Regions from separate parts of the Homo sapiens genome. Here all the other regions are linked to region 5. The links are contacts of gene promoters, found by promoter capture Hi-C in blood cells and fetal thymus (Javierre and others, 2016). All regions are on one chromosome and are shown on one strand. Each heading gives the region's core, a stretch centred on a gene start or on the middle of the fragment in contact. The rest is flanking DNA. Distances are from core to core; before and after follow the strand shown. Region 1 overlaps RUFY1 (RUN and FYVE domain containing 1). Region 2 overlaps CANX (calnexin). Region 3 overlaps MAML1 (mastermind like transcriptional coactivator 1). Region 4 holds the start of MAML1 (mastermind like transcriptional coactivator 1). Region 5 holds the start of RNF130 (ring finger protein 130).

The links. The method cuts DNA at HindIII sites, captures the fragments that hold promoters and counts their contacts. A CHiCAGO score of 5 or more calls a contact.
Region 1: a fragment that was not itself captured here is called in contact with the fragment with the promoter of RNF130 in region 5 in 1 of 17 cell types (neutrophils); the score reaches 5.3 in neutrophils.
Region 2: a contact is called between a fragment that was not itself captured here and the fragment with the promoter of RNF130 in region 5, in 2 of 17 cell types (neutrophils and total B cells). The highest score is 6.6, in neutrophils.
Region 3: a contact is called between a fragment that was not itself captured here and the fragment with the promoter of RNF130 in region 5, in 1 of 17 cell types (naive B cells). The highest score is 5.1, in naive B cells.
Region 4: a contact is called between the fragment with the promoter of MAML1 here and the fragment with the promoter of RNF130 in region 5, in 2 of 17 cell types (total B cells and total CD8 T cells). The highest score is 6.9, in total B cells.

The regions. Positions count from the first base shown.
Region 1 is chr5:179,572,449-179,575,148 of GRCh38, reverse strand. All of the region lies in intron 5 of RUFY1 (RUN and FYVE domain containing 1), which reads right to left. All of the region lies in intron 4 of LOC128966623 (a long non-coding RNA gene), which reads right to left. It also overlaps the pseudogene PRDX2P3. Among named protein-coding and RNA genes, the nearest start is that of RUFY1, 23 kb to the right of the region's middle. The HindIII fragment of the contact is 2,630 bases long and covers 42-2,671 here.
Region 2 is chr5:179,708,986-179,711,801 of GRCh38, reverse strand. CANX (calnexin) reads right to left here. Exons shown (of 15, transcript NM_001746.4): 6 at 2,743-2,816; 7 at 1,737-1,929. Among named protein-coding and RNA genes, the nearest start is that of CANX, 11 kb to the right of the region's middle. The HindIII fragment of the contact is 1,522 bases long and covers 669-2,190 here.
Region 3 is chr5:179,750,770-179,753,519 of GRCh38, reverse strand. The region is part of intron 1 of MAML1 (mastermind like transcriptional coactivator 1); the gene reads right to left. Among named protein-coding and RNA genes, the nearest start is that of MAML1, 19 kb to the right of the region's middle. The HindIII fragment of the contact is 6,852 bases long and covers 1-2,750 here.
Region 4 is chr5:179,731,359-179,734,121 of GRCh38, reverse strand. MAML1 (mastermind like transcriptional coactivator 1) reads right to left here and starts at 1,300. Exons shown (of 5, transcript NM_014757.5): 1 at 695-1,300. The coding sequence starts at 1,009. CANX (calnexin) reads right to left here. Exons shown (of 15, transcript NM_001746.4): 15 at 2,481-2,763. RefSeq lists silencers at 708-767, 1,008-1,207 and enhancers at 396-896, 1,658-1,757. The HindIII fragment of the contact is 11,025 bases long and covers 1-2,763 here.
Region 5 is chr5:180,070,224-180,073,020 of GRCh38, reverse strand. It overlaps RNF130 (ring finger protein 130), which reads left to right and starts at 1,262. Exons shown (of 9, transcript NM_018434.6): 1 at 1,262-1,565. The coding sequence starts at 1,319. RefSeq lists a silencer at 912-991 and an enhancer at 881-1,588. The HindIII fragment of the contact is 6,319 bases long and covers 1-2,797 here.

The DNA.
Region 1 (2,700 bases), core at 107-2,606, 500 kb after region 5:
AACCTACGTGAACATAAATGTATAGAAAAAGTAGAAAAGCTTCTAGAAAAATTTTCCCCAGAATCTTTACCATCACCTGTGGGAAAGGGAGGAGGACTGCGGCTGGGGCGGGGGGTGGGGTGAGAAGAGGAGGTTCAACTTCTCTTTTCACATTATATACTTTGGTATTGCCTAACTTTTTTCAACAAGCAAGCATTTCTTTTATAATAAAAAACCAAATCATAAAAAAATACAGCCAGGAAAAAGCAACAGAAAGATGAGAAAGAATTAATACCCAAAGCAAAAATCAATGGATTAGAAAGCAAATAAAGCCCTACTCCCAAAGTAGAATTGATAAATAAGACAGCTGGTTTGTCAAAGTTCAACCAAGTAGACAAATTTCTACTAAGTGTGATCAATATTTAGCAAATACACATTATAAATGAGAACAGTGAGATTTTTCAAAAGCTGTAAGAGAATACTTTCATACAACTCTAGCTTAGTAGAGCTGAATGAAATGGTTTCTAAAAAAATTATAAATGACTTTAAAAATTGTCTTAAGACTTAGGAAACCAATAAATTGATCAAAACTATGCTAAAAGTTAAAGTGGTCAAAGAACAAAGACCAAAAAAGGCATAAGGGTGAAGTGGTCATACCAGTAAGTTCTAGCAAGCCTGCACAGAAAAAATAATTCCTGATCTAATAAGCTGCGGTAGAAAACAAGAAAAGGAAGGCTATTTTCCAGTTTATTTTATTTTTATGTTTATTTTTTTTGAGACGGAGTTTTGCTCTGTTGCCCAGAGTGGAGTGCAGTGGCACGGTCTCAGCTCACTGCAGCCTCTGCCTCCCAGGTTCCAGCGATTCTCCTGCCTCAGCCTCCTGGGTAACCGGGATTACAGGCACACGCCACCACGCCCAGCTAATTGTTGTATTTTTGGTAGAGACCAGGTTTCACCATGTTGGTCAGGGCGGTCTCAACCTCCTGACCTCATGATCTGTCCACTTCGGCCTCCCAAAGTGCTGGGAGTGTGAGCCACCACGCCCGGCCTTCCAGTTTATGAGGCTAATACAATTCTGACACGGAAAGGTGGCAAAGGCAGTATAGAAAATTCAGAATAGTTTCACTTACAAGCAGAGACACAAAAATTCCAAACAGTAAACATATCAAATCCAGGGTTTACAATGATCAGGTAGGGATTATTTTAGAAATTCAGGGATAGTATTCAATAAGAAACCTATGAATTAGTTCAATTATATTTATGGGTTAAAAGCAGGTTGACATGTTGATAGATCCAAAAAAAGTATCTGACAACATTCAACATTCATCTCTTAAAAAATCACAAAGTAGGCCGGGCACGGTGGCTCACGCCTGTAATCCCAGCACTTTGGGAGGCCAAAGTGGGCAGATCACGATGTCAGGAGTTCAAGACCAGCCTGGCCAACATAGTGAAACCCCATCTCTACTAAAAATACAAAAAATTAGCCGGGCATGGTGGCAGGCACCTGCAATCCCAACTACTCAGGAGGCTGAGGCAGGAGAATCACTTGAACCCAGGAGGCGGAGGTTGCAGTGAGTGGAGATTATGCCACTGCACTTCAACCTGGGCGACAGAGTAAGACTCCATCTCAAAAAAAAGAAAAAAACAAAACGACAACAACAACAAAACACAAGGTAAACTGGAGTGGAAAGCACTCTCTAAACGTGAGAAACCGCATCCCTCAGACATCAGCAGCAAACATGTATACTTTATGTATACTATTATGTATATGATTATGTATACTATAGTGTGTTTGAAGAACACACTATAGGCACTGCCATTCAAGATAGCACTAGACCAGATTGCTCACTCATGTCTATTAATTAATTAAAATCTCAATGGAGTTTTTATTCTGGAATTTGACAAAACGATGTTCAAGTTCATCTGGCAGAATGGATGGCCCAGAAATATTTGAAACAGAAGTACAGCAGAGTAGGCAGGCGCTTAACTACCAGAGTCTAGAATATACTATCTGGCTCCAGTCATTAAAAGAATGTGTCACTGGCATAGGAACACAGATTCAGATTTACAACAGAAGAGTCCAGAAATAAACCAATGCATATTATGGATATTTCACATATGATAAAAGTGGAATTTCAAATTAGTAGAAAAAATATATTACATGATGATATTGCAAAAACTGGTTAACTATTTGTAAAAGAAATTTAGATTCCTACTTCACACTATGCCAAAACAAATGGCAAAAATGTGTAAAATTTACACATTTTTTACACATAAAGTGTGTAAAAAATTACCCAGGTAGAAGCAGAAGGTCTTGGCCTGGCCCTCCAGGGTCCCAGACTGTGGAGATTGGAGGGGCAGGTCTGGCCTTTCCTGGGTTAGCACAGGGTACCCAGTAGGGGCACAAGCTCACTATCCATCGGCCAGCCTAGTTGTGTTTGAAGAAGTATTCCTTGTCATCCACATTGGGCTTCATTGTCGCTACCAGGCTTCCAGCCAGTGGGACAAACTTTCCCGTGCTCATCTGCGTACTGGAATGCCTGGACCAGCTGCAGAGCCTCATCCATGGAGCACCCCAGAGGCAAATCATTAACAGTGATCTGGCAAAAGTCACCCTTGCCATCGATGATAAAGAGGCAGGGTAGGCAATGCCCTCATTGGTTTTCAGCACACAGTAATCTTCAGACAAGCTTCCCGTCACATCAGCGGGTGGGGGATGCT
Region 2 (2,816 bases), core at 180-2,679, 360 kb after region 5:
TTTTTTTTTTTTTTTTGAGACAGAGTCTTCCTGTCGCCCAGGCTGGAGTGCAGTGTCACAATCTGGCTCACTGCAACCTCCGCTTCCAGGGTTCAAGCAATTCTCCTGCCTCAGCCTCCTGAGTAGCTGGGATTACAGGCACCCTCCACCATGCCCGGCTAATTTTTGTATTTTTAGTAGAGATGGGGCTTCACCATGTTGGCCAGGCTGGTCTTAAACTCCTGACCTCAGGTGATCCGCCCACCTCGGCCACCCAAAGTGCTGGGATTATAGGCACGAGCCACCATGCCTGGCCAAAAACACCTATTCTATTCTTAAAATTATCTCGAACCTCAGTTCCTGTGGAAAAGAAGTTTTTTGGGTTTTTTGTTTTGTTTTTTGAGACAGCATCTCACTTTGTCACCCAGGCTACAGTGCAGTGGCAAGATCATGGCTCACTACAGTCTCGACTTCCTGGGCTCAAGCAATCCTCATACCTCAGCCTCCTGAGTAGCTGAAACTACAGGCACATGCCACTATACTCAGTTAATTCTTAAGATTTTGTAGAGACAGGGTCTGACTATGTTGTCAGGCTGGTTTGGAACTCCTGGACTCAAGCAATCCATCCGATTCAGCCTCCCGAAGTGTTAGGATTACAGGTGTGGGCCACCATACGTGGCCAAGAAGCTTCTTTTAATGCTGACAAATTAAGGTCATTTCCCAACTAAGATACTAAAGTGAAGAGATTCTTTTCTTTCGTGGAGGGGGTACAGAATCTTCCTCTGCCACCCAGGCTGGAGTGCAGTGATACAATCTTGACTCAACTGCAACCTCTGCCTCCTGGGTTAACGTAATTCTGCTGCCTCAGCCTCCCGAGTAGCTAGGATTACACCAGCTACTCAACACCACGCCCAGCTAATTTTTGTATTTTTAGTAGAGACGGGGTTTTACCATGTTGGCCATGCTAGTCTCGAATGCCTGATCTCAAGTGATCCGCCCGCCTCAGCCTCCCAAAGTGCTGGGATTACACGCATGAGCAACCATACCAGGCTGAGATTCTTCTTGTTTGGAGGCTGGGGTACTCTCCAGATATACAATCTTTTTTTTTTTTTTTTGAGATGGAGTCTTGCTCTGTCTCCTAGGCTGGAGTGCAGTGGCGCGATCTCGGCTCACTGCAAGCTCTGCCTCCCGGGTTCGTGCCATTCTCCTGCCTCAGCCTCCCAAGTAGCTGCGACTACAGGTGCCCACCACCACGCCCGGCTAATATTTTTGTATTTTTAGTAGAGACGGGGTTTCACCATGTTAGCCAGGATGGTCTCGATCTCCTGACCTTGTGATCCACCCGCCTCGGCCTCCCAAAGTGCTGGGATTACAGGTGTGAGCCACCGCGCCCAGCCTTTTTTTTTTTTTTTGAGATTGAGTCTCACTTTCGCCCAGGCTGGAATGCTGTGGCACAATGATCTTGGCTCCCTCCCAGGTTCAAGCAATTCTCCTGCCTCAGCCTCCCAACTAGCTTCGGTTACAGGCGTGCACCACCATGCCTAGCTAATATTTGTATTTTTAGTAGAGGTGAAGTTTCAACATTTTGGCCAGACTGTTCTCGAATTCCTGATCTCAGGTGATCTGCCCATCTCGGCCTCCCAAAGTGCTGGGATTACAGGCGTGAGCCACAGTGCCCGGCCAGATATACAATCTTTAAATTAAATGGATGATATATATGTAATACCATAAGCCCCCAAACTAATGCTTTTTCTTACTTAGTGTGTAAAGATGTGTTTTCTTATCAGTAAAATAGGTCTTCAGATCTGCATCTGGCCTCTTAGCATGTTTTTCTTCATAGATACCCGTTTTGGGGTTTTTGTGTCGGAAGATGAAGTGCAGTTTATAGTCCTCTCCACATTTATCTGGACCAAACATAATCGTATAAGGGGTCTTGTCATGGAACTGATCCTTCAAAAACAAAAAAGGATTATTTGAAGTCACTGTACTCAAAGTGTTCAAAAGCAACGTTTCAAAAGTGTATGATAATTCCTCTTATAAAATTCCAAATATATTAGTGACAGTTAAAGGAAAAGCTAACTACAAGTTTGTTTAGTAAAAAGGAATAACCAGCAATCATCAGTAAATTTAAAATAACGTTTAAGTGTCTAAAAAAAAGTAATGCACACATCTAGACAGTTATTGCTTCCTCATAAAACAAAGAAATAAGCTTGCCAAAACTAAAACTTACACAGAAGCAAAACCAGAAATTCAGATAAAAACAGTTGGTAACAACTTTGTAATTTACACTTCAAATAAAAAGCACGTTAGCGTCAAAGTCAATTTTCCCAACTCATCAAAAGAGTTAAACAGCAGGGGAGGAAGCCTTTATTTTCACAATTATTACAAAATTCTCTTTTTTTTTTTTTTGAGATGGAGTCTCGCTCTGTCGCCCAGGCTGGAGTGCAGTGGCGCAATCTCGGCTCACTGCAAGTTCCGCCTCCCAGGTTCATGCCATTCTCCTGCCTCAGCCTCCCAAGTGGCTGGGACTACAGGCGCCTGCCACCACGCCTGGCTAATTTTTTGTATTTTTAGTAGAGATGGGGTTTCACCATGTTAGCCAGATAGTCTCAATCTCCTGACCTCGTGATCCGCCTGCCTTGGCTTCCCAAAGTGCTGGGAGCTAGGATTACAGGCGTGAGCCACTGCACCCGGCCCAATTACAAAATTCTTACAAGGTAATAGTGGGTGTCCAGCCACATTCCAGAAATGGGAATTACATACCAGGTTGAGTTCTGGTGTTTTAGAAAGCAGTTTCACATAGGCACCACCACATTCTATTCCATTTTGGAAATTAA
Region 3 (2,750 bases), core at 87-2,586, 320 kb after region 5:
GTACTCCTCAAACTCCTTTGACCAAGCTGGACACCCTTATTCCCTTTACAAATAAAACAATTGAATCTACTTGTCCAAATGGATCTGGGAGTTAAGTGCAGCAATTCTATCTTAAGGAGAAAAATTTGAAATATTATCAAACGTAGCACGGAGGGTAATAAAAGTAAAAACGCATTAAAGATGTCAAGATAGACTGGTTTAATTGAGTAGTGAAATCAGAAGGCAGATTGCCAGAGGCCAAAGACAGACAATGTGAATTCAGGACTCCTTCACCCCAGCACGCGCGCGCGCGCGCGCACACACACACACACACACACACACACACACACACACACTAAAAAATAGCATCTAGGATTTAGGTGAGCAAACTGAAATCAGTAATTATAAATACAGTCTTTCCTGTTCCAATGATTGTGAAGTGACAGTGAGATAAGAGTTCCACAGATGGGCCAGGTGCTGTGGTTCACGCCTGTAATCCCAGCACTTTGGGAGGCCAAGACGGGCGGATCACCTGAGGTCAGGAGTTCAAGACCAGCCTGGCCAACATGGTGAAACCCTGTCTCTACTAAAATACAAAAATTAGCTGGGCATGATGGCGGGTGCCTGTAATCCCAGCTACTCAGGAGGCTGAGACTGGAGAATCACTTGAATCTGGAAGATGGTGGTTGCGGTGAGCCGAGATTGCACCACTGCACTCCAGCCTGGGCAGCTGAGTGAGACTCCTTCTCAAAAAAATAAAATAAAATAAATGAGTTCCACAGATGAAAGAGGACATAAAGAGTAATATCCAGAGGCTGAGGCAGGAGAATGGCGTGAACCCGGGAGGCGGAGCTTGTAGTGAGCTGAGATCACGCCACTGCACTCCAGCCTGGGCGACAGAGCGAGATTCCATCTCAAAAAAAAAAAAAAAAAAAAAAAAAAGAGTATCTAATAAAGTGTTAAACTCAACACAGTACAAACGTACTCATTACTCAACAGCACTAATAGAAATATGCCAGCCACAAGTGTGGGCAAAATTTGCTAGTAGCACATAAAAAGAAACAGATGGTGCCAATTTTAATATCATATTTAACCCAATATATATGAACTTTTTAACATATAATCAGTATTTTTTGAGAAAAAATCTTAATATCTTTAATAATGTTATTTAACCATATATATATATATATTTTTTTTTTTTTTTTTTTTTTTTTTGGAGACAGAGTCTAGCTCTGTTGCCAGGCTGGAGTGCAGTGGTGCGATCTCGGCTCACTGCAACCTCCACCTCCCGCGTTCAAGCGATTCTCCTGCCTCAGCCTCTTGAGTGGCTGGGACTACAGGCGTGCGCCACCACACCCAGCTAATTTCTGTATTTTTAGTAGAGAGGGGGTTTCGCTATGTTGGCCAGGATGGTCTTGATCTCTTCACCTCGTGATCCACCCACCTCGGCCTCCCAAAGTGCTGGGATTACAGGTGTGAGCCACCACACTGGGCCTATATTATCTTTTTAACATGTAATCAGTATTTTTTTTTCTTTGAGACAAGGTCTCACTCTATTGCCCACGATGGAGTGCAGTGGTGCAATCACAGCTCACTGCAGCCCTGACCTCCCAGGCTCAGATGATCCTCTCACCTCAGCCTCCCTAGTAGCTGGAACTACAGGTGTACACCACCAAGCCTGGCTAATTTTTTGTAAAGATGGGGTTTTGCCATGCTGCCCAGGCTGGTCTTGAACTCCTGGGCTCAAGTGATCTGCCCAGTTCAGCCTCCCCAAGTGCTGGGATTACAGGCATGAGCTACTGTGCCTGGCCATAATCGGTATTTTTTTCTTTTTTTGAGATGGAGTCTCGCTCTGTCACCCAGGCTGGAGTGCAGTGGCATGATCTTGGCTCACTGCACCCGCTGCCTCCCGGGTTCAAGTGATTCTCCTGCCTCAGCCTCCCGAGTAGCTGGGATTACAGGTGTGCGCCACCATGCCCGGCTAATTTTTGTATTTTTAGTAGAGACGGGCTTTCGCCATGCTGGCCAGGGTGGTCTCGAACTTGACCTCATGATCCGCCCGCCTTGGCCTCCCAAAGTGTTGGGATTACAGGTGACAGCCACTGAAGTGAGTGCACCAAAAAAATCTGTGGTACTAAATTATCAAAATCCAGTGTGCATTTTACACTTTTAGCACAAGTCAAGTTTAACAAGGTGCATTCCACGTGCTTAAGAACCTGACCTGGCTGATGGCTACCCTCATGGACAGTATAACTATAGAAAGTAGCCAGCTGGGCACGGTGGCTCACGCCTGTAATCCCAGCACTTTAGGAGGCCGAGGCGGGTGGATCACCTGAGGTCAGGAGTTTGAGACCAGCCTGACCAATATGGTGAAACCCTGTCTCTACTAAAAATAAAAAATTAGCTACGCATCGTGGTGTGCGCCTGTAGTCCCAGCTACTCGGGAGGCTGAGACAGGAGAATCGCTTGAACCCAGGAGGCAGAGGTTGCAGTGAGCCAAGATCGTGCCACTGCACTCCAGCCTGGTGACAGAGCGAGATTCTGATTTAAAAAAAAGTAGCCTTGAACAACTAAGTTTTCAGGACAGCACTGAAGATAAGGGAAGCCCCCGGGACCTGCCGCCTGGGCCCAGCAGCAGCTCCTTACTGCACAAAGGGCTCCATACAGCAGGCACTGTGGCTCTGTGCCAGCTGCCTCCTTGCTGGGAATCGTCATCCTTGCCCACCTTTCTCTTTCTAGCAAACTCTTCCTCATCATCTCATTCAATTTAT
Region 4 (2,763 bases), core at 51-2,550, 340 kb after region 5:
TACTGAGAGCCCAAAGGGAGTAATAATTGACCAACAATCTAACATCATCAGAGATTTTAAACAGGCCTGATAAATTAAAACTAGAATTGTCAACAATATTGCAGGAATCTCAAGTTCACAAAGTTCAGGCTACCTAAACAAGGAATACTTATATGCAACTCATTGAACATTTTACTAAGTTTTCCAAAAATTTCTTGATTTTCCATTCAGAGGAGTTTCAGTTGGTCAACCAAAGGCCGACTTATTTCCACATGAAAGCCCTGATCCTGCTCACAGCACAGGATCTTGTAAAGGGCAAGGACCCAATAAACATTTGCAGAATAAATGAGGCCAGGCCTACGGTGCAGGAACTCCCTCCATCACAGGCGACTCGAATGCTAGTCTATTTCGAATAAAGATCTCAACATCCCGGAATCAAGTCTGGAAGAAAAACCCTCCGGTTAGCGTTCGCCAGCCTTCCCAGGTCGGGCCTCCTGCAAGGCCCTCAAGGCGCTGTTTTCCCAAAGTAACGCCACCGTGCCACTTCCCAAAGATGACAACCTCTCAGCTCCCTGCCATGTTACCCTCTCTCCAGCCAGATCCAGGAGTCGCGGACGCCTGGGGAAGTCTCCCAGCGGCCCGATCCGCGTCAGAGGAAGCGTTTTCGGGAGAGGGGGCTGCCGCCACGACAAGCGCCTTCCCGCGCCCTACTCACCGTGGCCGGGCGGCCGTGCTCGGGGCCGTCAGCGGCGTCCAGGCGCGGGGCCGGGGCGGCGGGCGCCGGGGCCGTGGCGGCGGGCGGCTGCCTGTGCTTCCCGGCGCGCTTGGCCTTGGCCTGGATGCAGCGCTGGTGCAGGGCGAAGGTGTGTTGGCGCTCCAGCTCCAGGCGCTCGGGCGACACGGCCTCGTAGCGGGCCTCGCAGGTGCTGTGGTGGCGCCGGCACAGCTCGATGCGCCGGCGAAGGCGCTCCATGACCGCGCTGTGCCGCGGCAGCGCGAACTCCGCCATGGGGCAGGTGGGCAGCACCATGGGCCGCGGGCTGCACGGGCCGGGCCCGGGGCCGGGCCTCTCGGGGCCGGCTGGCACTGCGGGCTTCGCTCCCCGCGGCTACCCCTCTCCGCCTCACGGCCGCGCCATGCCCCCGAGGGCAGCGGAGCGGGCTCGCGCGCGGCGGCGGGTTTTCCTCCTGCCCCGCTCGGCCCGACCCCCAGCCGGCGCTTGCTGCCTACCTCAAGCCTCGGCCTCTCCCCACCGCCCCGGCCCCATTGTTTTCCGCGCTACCGCCGCGGCCGCCATCTTAAAATTGTTTTCGGGCCTCTCGGAAGAAGGCGGGGCCTCGGTAAGAGACCTTGTGCATCACGACTGATGAGCAGGGGCCCTGGCCAATCAGAGAAGGAAGAACCGGCCGCCCGAGGGCGTGGGGACGAGCACGCAAGAGGCGCGCTCGGGCGCCAGAGCGGTATTTAAAAGGAATTCTCAAGCGAAGGGCGGAGGGAAGCCCCTGGGCGGGCCTTAATCCTGGGGGCGGAGCTAAGCGTGACTGACAGGAGCCCGTCCAAGAGGCGGCTATTGGTTTCCTGCACAGCACCCGCTGAAGGCAGGCCCTTCCGGCTACCCCGAGAAAAGGGGAATCTGGCAGGCGAGTGCGGCGCAGCTGGCCAGTCCCTGTCGCCCGCCTGGCAGTACAGAGACCTTTTTTTTAAATTATTTTTTAAATTTCGACTTTGATAAACTCTAAGTAGCCACGCTATTTTAATGTCAGCCGTTTTACTTTGACCTTATTCCTTGTATCCAGCCCCATAATTGGTCAGAATCGTCTAGTGAGCTGGTAGTTTCCTCTTGCAACATTCCGAATCACTGGTAGTTTCCACCTATTTGTAAAAGCCCGAGCAAGTTTCAAAAGTGCAGTATTACTCACTACTTAAAAAAAAAGTCCAGAAGATGTGAGCAAAAGCATGCAAGAGTGCAGCTCCATTAGAGGGAACTGGAAATGCAAAGGACGACGTTTCACCACAACCACCGCCTTCCAGGCTCAAGCGATTCTCCTGCCTCAGCCTCTCCAGTAGCTGGGATTACAGGCATGCGCCACCACGCGCGGCTAATTTTGTATTTTTAGTAGAGACGGGGTGTCTCCATGTCGGTCAGGCTGGTCTCCCACTCCTGACCTCAGGTGATCCGCCCACCTCGGCCTGCCAAAGTACCGCGATTACAGGCGTGAGCCGCCGCGCCGGACCAAAAACAGTCCTTTAGGTAAAACTGAGTTACTCAACAAAACCAAACCAAGACAAATTATGCCCCATTATTAAAACTAATAGGCAAAGGGGAGTAGAGGGACTGGAGCAATCAAACAGTGTTAGTACTAAAACTAGATAGTGTGATGCCAAAGGATATCAGGAACTCTAGATATGGGCACTCTAATTGCTAAAAGGTTAAGCAGGAGGTGGCAGGAGGCTGCACATTGAGATACACCATCAGTAGTTCAAACATTCGTTACTCTAGCTTTTTACTAGGGCTCATGAGGTTTTATTTTAAAATCAAGAGAAAACAACAATCAAATATGTCTTCATACAAACGCAGCAGAAAAATACAAATCCTAATGTTTTAAATGGAGAAAGTGGGCCACCAAGGCAAAAGTGCCATAATGCAGTCCTGCTTTTTTTTTTTTAGCATTCAAACAAATTTTACACCAGAACTAAACTATTTCTTAATAGAAAAAATAGTAACTAGGAGCACTACATTCTGTGTACATACTTTTCTTTAGTATGTAATCTAAAAATTTAATA
Region 5 (2,797 bases), core at 13-2,512:
TGCCCCATTCTTCCTTTTAGCTGATACTTTATAGCGATGTGTATCTTTTAAACGCCATGGAGAGAGAAAATGAGAGTCGTGTGTGTGTGCGCGCGCGCGCGTTTCGGAAGGTGGAGGGGGGGTTCCCACTGCAACCCTCTGGTCCGGGGGCCCCTGGAGTAGTTCACCTAGTCACTAGAGCAGGGGCTCCCCAACCGCCCGGCCGCGGACCTGTACCGGCCCAGGGCCTTCGAGGAACCAGTAAGCGAGCAGGAGGTGAGTGAGCATCACCGCCTGAGCTCCGCCTCCTGTCAGATCAGGGCGGCATTAGACTCTCATAGCAACGTGAACCCGGCTGTGAACTGCGCATGCTTGGGACCTAGGTTGCCCACTTCTTACGAGAATCTAACGCCTGATGATCTGAGGTGGAGCAGCCTCATCCGGAAACCACTTCAACTCCCTCAGTCCCTGGAAAAACTCTCTTCCTGGAAACCCGTCCCCCAGTGCCAAAATGGTTAGGGACGGCTACCCTAGAGGTCTTTCCCAACCACTCGTGTCCCTGCAGGTCCGGGCCAGAGACATCCCCCATCCATGATGTCAACCGCATGACGTGAATGTTAAATCTCATGACATTTAATTTTAAACATTTCTTTTAAAGTTATGGCTTTTTTTCCTTTGTAGTCTGTTCTCACACATTTCCATACGTCCTCGCAAATCTCCCGGGCTCCACGCCCTGCGGCTATCACGCCTGACAGAGAAACAACCAGCACCAGCGGCTGACCCGGCTGCCCGGGCCCTCGTGCAGGCGGGCGGGAGCGGACAGGCCCTGGCACGCATGCGCTCGGGGCGGGACTGCGCCTTAGGCCTGCGCGTTGCCGCTAGACCAGCGGGGGGGCGGGGCGGCGGCGGACACGCGCCTCAGGCGGCAGCCGCGCGAGAGGGACTTTGTGTTCCGCTGACCCTCCTCGGGGCGCTTCCTCCCGTGCCGCCCTTCCCCTCCCCCGCCGCGTCCTTGCGAGGCGCCTCCCATTCGGTGGGACCGACCCGGGGGGATGGAGGGGGCACGCTTCTACAACCCTCCTGGGACCCCGAAGAGACGCCCGCGTGCGACCTGAGACGCCGCCCTCGCCGAGGGCCCATGGGCGCGTCCCCACAGGCGGGCAGTGGACGTGAGGGCGGCGAGCGGCGGGGCCGCGGCGTCCAGGAGGGCCGCGCTCGGGCTCGGCCCCGCGCAGGCCGCGCGCGCGCGCTCCCGCCGCCGCCCGGGCCGCGCCCGCCCCGCCTCTAGGCGCCGGCCCCGGAGCCCGGTCCGCGAGCAGCGGCGGCTGCCGGAGGGACGATGAGCTGCGCGGGGCGGGCGGGCCCTGCCCGGCTCGCCGCGCTCGCCCTGCTGACCTGCAGCCTGTGGCCGGCACGGGCAGACAACGCGAGCCAGGAGTACTACACGGCGCTCATCAACGTGACGGTGCAGGAGCCCGGCCGCGGCGCCCCGCTCACGTTTCGCATCGACCGCGGGCGCTACGGGCTTGACTCCCCCAAGGCCGAGGTCCGCGGCCAGGTGCTGGCGCCGCTGCCCCTCCACGGAGGTGAGTGCCGGCCCGGGGGCGGCGGGCGGTGGTCGCTGCATCCCGCGTAGGCGGCGGGACTAGGGTTCCCGGCCCCGGCTCTGGCCCTGGCTCTCCCGCGCTGCCCGGCCGACAGCCCCAGCCAGGGTCGAGGCTTCCGTCGTGGACAGCCCGGCCTGCTCCCGTGGGAACCAGGCTCCAGGAGCGTGACTGGGTTTTTCCCTTCTTTTAAAAAAGACTTGGAACGGTCATCTTTGCGTTCAGGCAGCTCGTTTGCTGGAGGGCATTGAGCTAGGAGTTTGCAGGGACAGCGTAGACAAAGGAGGTGGTGCAAGAGCGCAAAACTACTTCATGGGGAGGACGTCTCAGCCTGTATTTTGGAAGCGGCAGGTTCCTCAAATCACGGACTTAAGGCTGCGCTAGATCTGGAAGGATGCGGCCCTTTTCTAATATAAAAACGTGCCGTTTTTCTTAAGTGGTAAATTGGGGGGGGGGTGTAAATGGAAAATGGACATCTTCCCTGTTGCTTTTGGCTCTTGTTCTTGCCCTAGTAGTTTTACTGTAATTTGACGCCTGAAAATGTCACATTATGAGGATCTGACACTAATCGGAACTACTAGCCAAGGCTTTTCAGGTCACGGGTGCCGACCAAAAGGGAAATAGGTAAAATTTTCAAGAATTGTCTTTGAAACCATTCGGCTTAATGTCATGTTTTCCTATGAACAAGGACTTTGTTTAGTTGATTATTTGGTGTAAACATGTATTTGTTTAAATTATTAGTCATGGTTTGAAAGAAACCTTTTGCACATCGTGGAATATGATTTTTTGGGTTTTGGCCCACGCTGAACTTTTGGGAGATATCTGCCATTATCCCCACCCTCATTGTCACCCTGAGAATGCTGAGAGGGGATTTTTCTTTTCTAAACTGCTGTTCATGTTAGGATGACCTAAAGTAGGCAACCTAAATAAAGTCATGATTTGCTTGTACACTCTTAAGATACTAACATATTATGCCCCTCTGAGGTCTGTATTTGTATGCCAAAGTGCTAAGCTGTTTTCTTCTTTGAGACAGTCTGGCTGGGGAAAAATAATCACATAAGGCTTTTACTGTAGCCTGTCCGCAACTCAGACTAGGCTTTGAAAAGTCCGTTTTACACCAGTAATCAGGTGCTTAAGGTGCATATCTCATCTCTACTGTGTTAAAAATGGCAGTTAGGGTCCCAGCTTGGCCGTAGAAACAACTTTTGTCTTGG